Regions from separate parts of the Homo sapiens genome. Here region 1 is linked to region 2. Evidence: promoter capture Hi-C in human tissues and cell types (Jung and others, 2019). All regions are on one chromosome and are shown on one strand. Each heading gives the region's core, a stretch centred on a gene start or on the middle of the fragment in contact. The rest is flanking DNA. Distances are from core to core; before and after follow the strand shown.

Region 1 (4,904 bases), core at 1,273-3,772, 520 kb after region 2:
GCAGGTTTTAGAATTCTCCCCCAAAACACTCCAGCTAGCCCAGGTAACACATTCAAATTTGGTGGCTTAGTCACTGACTTCTATTTTTCTTAATTTTAAGAGGCTAGGGTAGGTAGATGGCAAGATAAGAGAAGTGCCTCTTGCATAGATGCCTGTCACAGCAAAGCAACTGCTCTACAATCCACAGTTAGAATCTATAATTACAAATTAATATTTACTACTGAGCTCCTCTTTTAAAGTATAAATGCAATCTGTGAGGTTAAACTTGATGGGCATTTGCACCCTAGTGAAAGTTACTCTCCTCACACTTTGTTAAGGTATGTATGGCGTTATGAATCTGGATGATGACAAGCAGAGCCAGCAACAGTTAGGACCTTGGAAAGGCAGTGAATTCACAGTAAGGGTACCCAGAGTCTGATGCTACAGCAGTGGTTTGCAGAGGATGCATACTCAGTCATAGGGACAGTGCAAGTGCCTGGGGCAGCAGCGTGACTGTTCTCCCTGAGGGTCCCCCGCACGAGCCATGGACACGTCTGCATAGGTGCAGGAGCAATGCCTGAAAAGCTGCCTGCGAGAAGGGCAGCAGAACAGCCCTCCCTGATACCTCCTTGCACTCCTACCAAGTGAGGTGTCCTGCTTTATACACCATAACAACCTTCACTTAAAACAGAGCAGGACCACGTTTGTCTGGCATCTTCCATGTCAAGCACAGTGTGCACGCTCATAGATACTTACGGAATAAATGATTTGAGCTGCAACTGCAGGTGTCTTTCAGAATGACCACCACCACGCACCCCGTCCCCTGAATACACACCTGAAATAATCTCTATCATCTGGCACAGTGTCTGGTATAAAGTATGCATCTAACCAATTCAGGTTTCCGTTTCTTCCCTCAATATCTATTGAAACCAGGGAAGAAACTGAATGTATTTAAGAAAGACTGGTTTATGACTAATCCAGAAAGAGAAATCTTAAGAAAGAAGAATTCAGAACACAGAGAAAACTCTTGTCGTAGTTGTGGAAAACATAAATGCAATAGGGAGTGAAAAATCATTAAATCTTCTCTTTCAAAGAAAGAATCAGCTTAATTAAATCAACATTCAAAAAAACTATCATTTGCTACATCATTATTTTCTGAAGATTCCAAGGCGAAGAGATAGATATTCCCACTCCTTAGAGAGTGACTTTTGTGTGTGCGGGTGTGCACCAGGAAGGGGATGCAGCTCAGTTCACAGTGGCCACACCCTAGGCAGTCGCAGCCACACCCTGGGTTGTGCCAGCCCCAGAGGTAGCAGATAGCTTCCAGGGACAGGGTGGAAGAACTGATAGCTGGCACCCAACCAATCTCTGGCATGAGCACTCATTTGAACCGCAGACCACATTTTGCTGATTATATACCTACTCTGTGTCACCAGAAACCCTTTCATGAACCCAACAAGATAAAGTTCTTGAGAGTGGGAACTTTGCCCTTGACTTTCTCTTCTACGTAGTGCTAGATACACACAGTCCAAACAGTCCTTTCTGAGCTGAACTTTAATACAGGTGTAGATGACTTTGCAATTCACTTGGTTATATCGTAGCATTTGTTAATCATTATGCAGTTTCCTGGGTTAGTCATAAACCAGCAGTATAAATTAATATTTATGAATTGAAACCTTCTACCACATGCAGCCATGCGTTTCAGTGATGGACTGCATATTTAACAATGGCCCCATAAGACTGTAATGGAGCTGAAACATTCCTATTGCTTAGTGACATCATAGCCACTGTGCCATTGTAACATCGTAGTACACTGTATCATCCACATGTTTGTGGTGATGCTGGTGTAAACAAACCTACTGCGCTGCCAGTCATATAAAAGTATAGCATGTATAATTATGTACAGCACATAACACTTGATAATGATCATAAGTGACAGTTACTGGTTTATGTAGTTACTATACTATACTTTTTAGCATTATAGTGTATTCCTTCTACTTATTAAAAAAAAATGTTAACTGTAAAACAGGTGCAAGCAGGTCCTCCCTGAGGTATTCCAGAAGGCCTTGTTACCATAGGAGAGGACAGCTCCACACATGGCAGGTGTGTCCATGTGACCTTCCACTGGGGCAAGATGTGGAGGCAGAAGACGGATACTGATGATCCTGACCCTGTATAGGCCTAGGATAAGGTGTGTGTTTGTGTCTTAATTTTTAACAAAAAAAGCTTAAAAAGTAACTATGAAATAAAAAGAAAGTTTTAAAAATAGAAAAAATTTCACTTCCAGTTAGAAACCTACAAAGGCCATCAGCTCAAAGTCAGTATGGGTGTTCTGAACTGAATGGTGTTGCTTCTTTAAAAATAAAAAAAGTATTTAAAACATAGAAAAAAAAATCTTATAGAATAAGGATATGAAGAAACAATTTTTGGCCGGGCATGGTGGCTCACACCTGTAATCCCAGCACTTTGGGACGCCAGGGCAAGCAGATCACTTGAGGTCAGGAGTTCAAAACCAGCCTGGCCAACATGGTGAAACCCTGTTTCTACTAAAAATATAAAAAAATTAGCTGGGCGAGGTGATGAGTGCCTGTAATCCCAGCTGCTCGGGAGGCTGAGGCAGGAGAACTGCTTGAATCCGGGAGGTGGAGGTTGCAGTGAGCCGAGATTGCACCACTGCACTCCAGGCTGGGAGACCCAGCAAGACTCTGTCTCAAGAAAAAAACAAAAGAAAACAAAAAACAAAGAAACAATTTTTATGCAGTTACAATGTATTAGTGTTTTAAGCTAAGTATTGTCACAAAAGATTCAAAAGTTTAAAAATTATAGTAAAAAAGCTTCAGTAATCTAGTTTAACTTATTATTGAAGATAAAATATTAAAAAATGAATGTAGTGTAGCCTAAGTATACAGTGTACGTAAGGTCTGCAGCAGTGTACAGAAATGCCCTAGGCCTTCACACTCACCACTCACTCACTGACTCATCCAGAGCAACTTCCAGTCCTGCAGGCTCCATTCATGGTAAGTGCCTTCTACAGGTGTACCATTTTTTGTCTTTTATACCATATTGTTACTGGATCTTTTCTAAGTTTTTAGATATCTTTAGACACACAAATACATACCACTATGTTACAATTGCCTATGGTATTCAGTACAGTAACATGCTGTACATGTTTGCAGCCTAGAAGCAATAGGCTAGACTATATAGCCTGGGTGTGTAGTAGGTTATACTGTCTAGGTTTGTGTAAGTACACTGTACGATATTCTCACAATGACAAAATCACCTAACACATTTCTCAGAACATATCTCCATCATGAGTGAACACATAACTGTAGTTAAAAGTACCTAGTTTTCCCTCTTCTACACTGTTGAGGGAAGTATAAGATAGAACCATCTAGAGGACAGCCTGGCAATAGGTAATTTTTTTTTTTTTTTTTTAACACAGGGTCTCTGTTGCCAAGGCTGGAGTATGGTGGTGCTATCACAGCTCACTGCAGCCTTGACCTTCTGGGCTCAGGTGATCCTCCCAACTCAGCCTCCCAAGTAGCTGGGGCTGCAGGCACACATTGACATGCCCAGCTAATTTCTGTATTTTTAAAATTTTTTTATTTTATTTTATTTATTTTGAGACAGTCTCGCTCTGTCGCCCAGGCTGGACTGCAGTGGCACAATCTCAGCTAACTGCAACCTCTGCCTCCCAGATTCAATCAATTCTCATGCCTCATCCTCCCAAATAGCTGGGATCACAGGCGCCCGCCACAACACCCGGCTAATTTTTTTATTTTTTAGTAGAGATGGGGGTTTTGCCATGTTGGCCAGGCTGGTCTCAAACTCCTGGCCTCAACTGATACGGCTGCCTCAGCCTCTCAAAGTACTGGGATTACAGGTGTTAGCCATCACGCCCAGCCTATGTATATTTTTTCTTTTTTTTTTTTTTAAGAGATAGGATCTTCCTATGTTTCTTAGGCTGGTCTCGAACTCCTGGGCTCTAGTGATCCTCCCATCTCAGCCTCCCAAAATGCTGGGAATACAAGCATGAGCCACAGCACCTGGCCAGTAATATTCTTTTTAATATTAATATTCTTTGGCTCATTAATCCTACTAGAAATCTATCCTGAGGTAACAATCAGAAATGCAAACAAATTTGGTTCAAAGATATTTACTTCAGCAATATTTATGATGGCAAAACCAGAAATACTACATATGTCCAATAATAGAGGGCCAGTTAAATAAATAATATACCCGTTAAATAGAACATTATACAACTGTTAAAAATGGTGTGTACAAATATTAAAGAGGTTAAAACAGGCTCAATATACAGCAGGTTGAGTGGGGAAAAAAGAAAATAAAAGTATATGTAGAATAATCTTGGTTTTCTTAATAATAGAAAAAAATTAAGAAAGTATTAAAATCATAAGCATAGTTATTTCTAGATGGCTAGATTATAGATTTTTCTTTGTAATTTTCTGTAATTTCCAAAATGAGCAAATACATATCTAAAAAAACTTAGAGTGGCTTGACAATCATTATTCATTGAGAAGACAGAGGAACAGGCAGTATGGAATGATGGAACCGAAAGATCAGACCTGACTTCTGGCTTGAGTACCACCACTTATCTGCTAAGTGCAGTTCACGAGACAGCTTTGCAGTTGAATGCAGTTTTGGAATCAAATTGTCTGCATTCAGAACCTGGTTCTCATATTTCCTAGTTGAGTGTCCTTGGGAATATTACTTAACACCTTTCAGCACCTCAGTTTCCTCACTTGTTAAATGGAGATACTAATATAACCTTGGAAGGTTGTTGAGAGGATTAGATGGACATACTGTCTATAAACATTCATCATGATGCCTGACACATAGGAAGGACTCAGTAAATGTTATATATTATGTTACGTTACATATGCTAATGTTTGGTTAACTGTCCTTGA
Region 2 (5,195 bases), core at 437-2,936:
TCTGACCAGTCCTCTTTAAAAATGTCAAGGTCATGAAAAACAGAGAAAGACTGAGAAGCTGTCACAGATTGAGAAGAATAAGGAGATGTAATGACTAAATGCAACATCATATCTTGGATTAGATTCTAGAGAAAAAAAGACATTAGTGGAAAAACTAGTAAAATCAAAATAAAGTCTGTAGTCTTAATTTTAAAAAGAAAAAAGATATGGTCTATCAACAACCAATTGATTCTTGGACAGTGATTCTGATGCCCATGGTCGACACATAACACCTTGAGAAATGCCTTGACTGTGAGTTGTTTCTCCCCCTCAGTACAGGATGAGTTCTTTCATATCTCTATGCATTTTGCATTTGCCAAATGCTGGTCCTGTACTACTCATTCACCTTTCTCTTTTCAGTGAGACTCTACAGTCTGTCAGTATTCAATTTAAATGTCACTACTTGAGCAAAGTCACACGTAAATCTCTCAGTGGCCAGAGAGCCACTGAGTGGCTCTCTGACCACTGAGGGATTTACATGTGGCCAGAGATTTACATGTCTGGCCTTCCACGGCACTGGATACACAACCCCACTAAAGCAGGTGTCACAGTTTACTATAATAACTTGTTAACAGGTTTATTTTCTCCAGTGATCCATGTGCTCTTTTTCAACTTTGAATCCCTAGTACCTAGCACTATGTTTGGCTCCTGCCAGGCAGGCAGTCAGCCTTTGCTGAATGAAAGGACCAGTGATTGAGGTCTGTGGCTACACGGTAAAATGAGAGAGACGAGTCATCAAAGGGAAAAACTGCTTTTTTGTTAACTATAAAGTGAACCAAGGTGTCAGAACAGTTAAAACAAGGATGAAGAGTGCTTTTAGATCTCAATCAATTTTTAAATTACTCGTCACACCTGTCCTAGCTAAAGACTAACTCTAGCACCTCCTGCGGCCTGTTAGTCAGTATTTCACACTTGGGCAGCAGATCCAGCAAATGTTCAATGATCGCAGAAGAAATACTTAGAAGCTATTGGCTTTGAAAATAAAAATGTAAGAAGATGCCTAGTAAAAGCATCTGCTAAATATTCTTCCTGTTTGGCACATTAGACTGCAGTATCAGACACATGACCGTGGTCATACTGTACACAATGCCCAATGTCTGCCAAAACTCTGGCATATGAGAGACTTAGTGCTGGAGTACGGAGGGATTCTTCCGGTATCCCCACTACACACAGTGGTGGAAAGAAGAGCTTCCAGAACAAACCCAGTCAGGCAAAGAGGCAAATACACTGCATTTAGTAACGCTGCTGGAGCCCGCCCTTCACCCTTTCTGAAGGTAGGATACTAAAAGGGCTCAAGCCTAAATCTAATCCAACAAGCTATATTCTGAATAACGACCAATCTCTGATAAAGCTGTTCCCCTAACCCTTCTGCTGCCCGAAACACTCACTCTACAGCCCCTACTGGGCTACCGGGTTCCCCACTGGACTCTGGACAGCGCCGCGCCCTGCTCGGCCTCACCCACCCGGTGGCGCTTGGGCCCGCCCTAGTCCCCCACCCCCACCCCAGGGCACCACCTACCAGGGCCCCGCCCCGCCTCAGCCCCACGTGCGGGGCCCCACCCCGGCGCTAGCGGCCCTTTAAACACCCCCACCCTTACACATTACCCCCCCCCCACCCGGACGGCAGCCGAATAGGGACAAAACTCATGGCGTACAGCCAGTTTCCTCCGCGGAGCACGTCCTGTGCTGCTCCAGCCGTTGGGGCTCTCCACCCCGGGCCACAGCCTCCTGGCGCCCCCCGGGCCGAGGCAGCCGGGCCGAGGAGTGTCGGTGTGGTCCGGCTACGGGGCGGGGCCGGCGGGAGCTCCGGTCGCCGCCGCCGCCGCTGCTGCCTCCGCCTGCCTCTTGGGCCGCCCGCTCGCCCGCCGCTGGGTGCGCTGCACGCGGGGGGCAGCCGTGGTGCAGAGGTTCATGCAGCGGCGGCGGCGGCGGCGGCTGCTGCTGCTGCCGCCGCGGAGGCAGACAGACCGGGCGCTGCCACCGCCGCCCTCCCCCGGCTCCATGCCGCCGCCGCTGCCGCCTCCTCCTCTCCGGCGAGGGGCGGGGGGCTCCGGCCCGGGGTGGGCACCATTCCTCGCAGCGCCGCTCCCCTCCCTGCCCTCCGCCCGGGCGCTGGAGCCGGCGAGGGCACCCGCCGCCTCCTAGGAGTGCACCCTCCGCGCGCCCTGCCGGAGCGAGGGGGCGGGCGTGGGCGGACGTCGGGGCAGCGGGGACCCCGCGCGGCTGCAAGAGGAGGGGGCTTCCCCAAGGATGCCCGGCGGCTCCCCGCTCCTAGGTGCGAGCTGAGTCTGACCGGGAGCGAGCGGCGCGTCGCCATGCCGGCGTGACGGGCGCCCCCGGCTGCCCGCGCGGGCCCCCGCGCTGCCCCACGCCGCGCCGTGCCGGCACCGGGCTGCAGGATGGGCTGTATCCAAAGCATCACCTGCAAGGCGCGGATCCGGCGCGAGAACATCGTGGTGTACGATGTGTGCGCCACCATCGACCAGTGCCCCACGCGCATCGAGGAGACCTCGCCCATCGTCCTGCGCTACAAGACCCCCTACTTCAAAGCCTCCGCCCGCGTGGTCATGCCCCCCATCCCCCGCCACGAGACCTGGGTGGTGGGCTGGATTCAGGCGTGCAATCAGATGGAGTTCTTCAACACCTACAGCGACCTGGGCATGTAAGCGACTCGCCGCGCGGCACGGGAGCGGACTCTGGGCCCCCAGCTCTGCTTGCCACCTTGACCCCCCTCCCCAGCTCCTTCCTACTGCTGTCCCCATCGTCTTTCTAAACCTTCCTCCCGCCTCCTCTCCCACCTCCCTCCTCCCTACGCTTTTGTTTCAGTGACAGGGCGGGTGTAGGGAGGCTCCTTGCGAAGGCATTTTCTCGTGGTTTGCTTCTGACTTCCCAGAAACGCGAGGAGAAAGGTGCGGGGCGGGAAGAACGCGACAAGGAGGGTTCGAGAGGCGGAGGTGGGGATGGCTGGCGAGTGCCTGGCGAGTTTCAGGGCGCCGTCTGTGCTTTGTGGGGCTCCCCGGGAAGAGTTTGGGGGAAACCATAGAGGAGTGGAGTGGAGTGCCGGGGGCGCATGGGCTGTGCCGCGCGTCCTTTGGAGAAACCGGAGCGGGCTTGGAAGAGCAGGTCCCGGGCATCCGAGCGGGAGTTGGTAGTTCTGTCCTTGCCCTCGCGACTGTTGAAGTTTCGAACCCTTGTCCCCCGGGCCAGGGAGCCCGGAGGCGTTTCCGTCTGGAACCACAAGCCGGACACAGTTGCCTCTCTGTTTCCGCGCCCCCTGGACCAGTTCTGGTGGGGAGCTGGAAGGCACCGAGTGCGTCCCGGCCAAGAAGGGCGGATAGCCTTGTGCGAGCAGCGTTCGGCTGGCGCGGCGCGGGGTGTTTCTTATGCTAAAGGAAAGGATGGATCTCTTGTCTGTCTAGGGTCCTTACTTTTTAAAACTTTCCTAATTGCGGCACTGGAAGGGATTCCCCTGGCGCCCACCGCCGAATTCTATCGGCGAGCTGGGAGCTCTCCAACTTTCAGCAGCGCCGGTTGGTGCGCGCCGGGCTTGGCTGCTGCGGTGAAGACCAAGGATCGCCGCGGCTCCTCAACCGCCAGGGGCCGCAGGCTACGGGCGGTCGCGTCCGGGACTTTTATATTTACCAAATTTTCATAACTCCGCACCCGCCTCCTTTCAGAACTAGACTCTGAGCAGGTGGCAACGACAATAGCTAAAAGGTTTAGGGCCTGCCTTCTACCTGCTGTTACAATGTAGGTCTAGAACACCCTAATTAGCCAGTCTGCAGCCTACAGGGAAACCCTTTTTCTGGAAATTCAACCTCATTTCACTTATTAATCTAAAACTCTAGAGCTCCCAAGGTTCGTCTATTTAATATGGATATGGGGTGGGGGAGTTCCCATTTTAAAAGGTCAAACCATCTTTTTAGCAGCAGTTTGCAGGCTTTTTATTGCACTCTGAGAGCATGTCAGTTAACACTAGTCATAGGCGCTAAAAGAAATTTGACAGGTCGTTGTTTTCCTTTTTTCCTCCCAAAGATTTTGCACTTTTCTCTTTAAGCACAAAAGCTTAATCCTTGAGAAAACTCAATTCCTAGTGAAGAAATGTGAGGCCCAGTTTCCAATATGCCTCAGCACACTGTATTCTTCCAGAGAAGACAGCTAGATGTGAGAAATGGGGGATATTTTATTTGGGGCGAATCATGCCATTTAAAAACTGACATACCCTCAAAAGAATGATTATATGTGAACACATGTGTCTCTTAAAACTGCTTTTTAAAATAAATCCATTGTTTCCAGCCAAGTCAGAGAAAGCCACAGGCAGGGCAAGAGCCCTTCCTCTCATTTCCCTGGCCTCACCCTGATGGCAGTGGGTTGCTGGAGGACAGCAAGTGCTCCCCACAGCAGCCTGGGGCCCCTGGTAGAGGAAGCCAGGAGTGACTGTGCAGAAGCAGCCTCACTTTTCCCAAGACTGCACAGCGGAACTCTCTGTTGCCTCAAATCTCTTATGAATAAGTAAAAGCAAATATATAAATACAGAATTATTTCCGTAAAACTTACTTTACCTTAGGAGAAGTCAAGTTGAGATATAAACAGACATGGTAGTTGAACTTCCTGGAATCTATAGGGAAGGTATGTCCTCACTGGAACCAACTTTAATGGATATGAATCAGTGACAGGATTCCTGACCCTTCCCCACTGAATCCTTGCATTTGGGATTTGGAAAGTGGTTTTGTTTTTAAACTGCCACTTTTGATATTTTAAGATTCTTGGTTTTCATGTAGATGTAGGAGAGCAAAAATAGACCCCCAATAAATCATAAAGCATATTATTATAGATTTGTGTCCACAGTCTACCTGTTTCTTCATGGTTGCAATAATTGCTATGTGTTAAAGGCCACTTTGGAGCCCAAATTTGAATGAACCAATTTCCACAAGATATTTATGCCTGGAAAATTTTGCTAGTGTAAACTTTTTAATGGGAATTCATATTGCATGAAAGTTGCTGCAGTCTATTAGTTATTATGTCTACTTTAGCCAATATCTGGATTGTAAAAAATAGCATGGAGTGATTTTTCACCTCTGTGCAGTGTTCTGTCACATGAACCACAATATGGTGAAAGGGTTTGGATTAGAAAACTGCCTTTTCAATATTTTGAA

The links. Contacts are between HindIII fragments. The study calls those that stand out against the background at their distance.
Region 1: a fragment that was not itself captured here is called in contact with the fragment with the promoter of FAM78B in region 2 in 1 of the 25 tissues and cell types used here (pancreas).

What each region holds. Positions count from the first base shown.
Region 1 is chr1:165,642,564-165,647,467 of GRCh38, reverse strand. The region is part of intron 1 of MGST3 (microsomal glutathione S-transferase 3); the gene reads right to left. Among named protein-coding and RNA genes, the nearest start is that of MGST3, 14 kb to the right of the region's middle. The HindIII fragment of the contact is 3,519 bases long and covers 763-4,281 here.
Region 2 is chr1:166,163,492-166,168,686 of GRCh38, reverse strand. FAM78B (family with sequence similarity 78 member B) reads left to right here and starts at 1,686. Exons shown (of 2, transcript NM_001017961.5): 1 at 1,686-2,701. The coding sequence starts at 2,439. LOC112268276 (a long non-coding RNA gene) reads right to left here and starts at 2,810. Exons shown (of 3, transcript XR_002958633.2): 1 at 2,633-2,810. RefSeq lists silencers at 1,446-1,935, 1,976-2,035 and enhancers at 2,426-2,475, 2,576-2,745, 1,917-2,819. The HindIII fragment of the contact is 7,560 bases long and covers 1-5,081 here.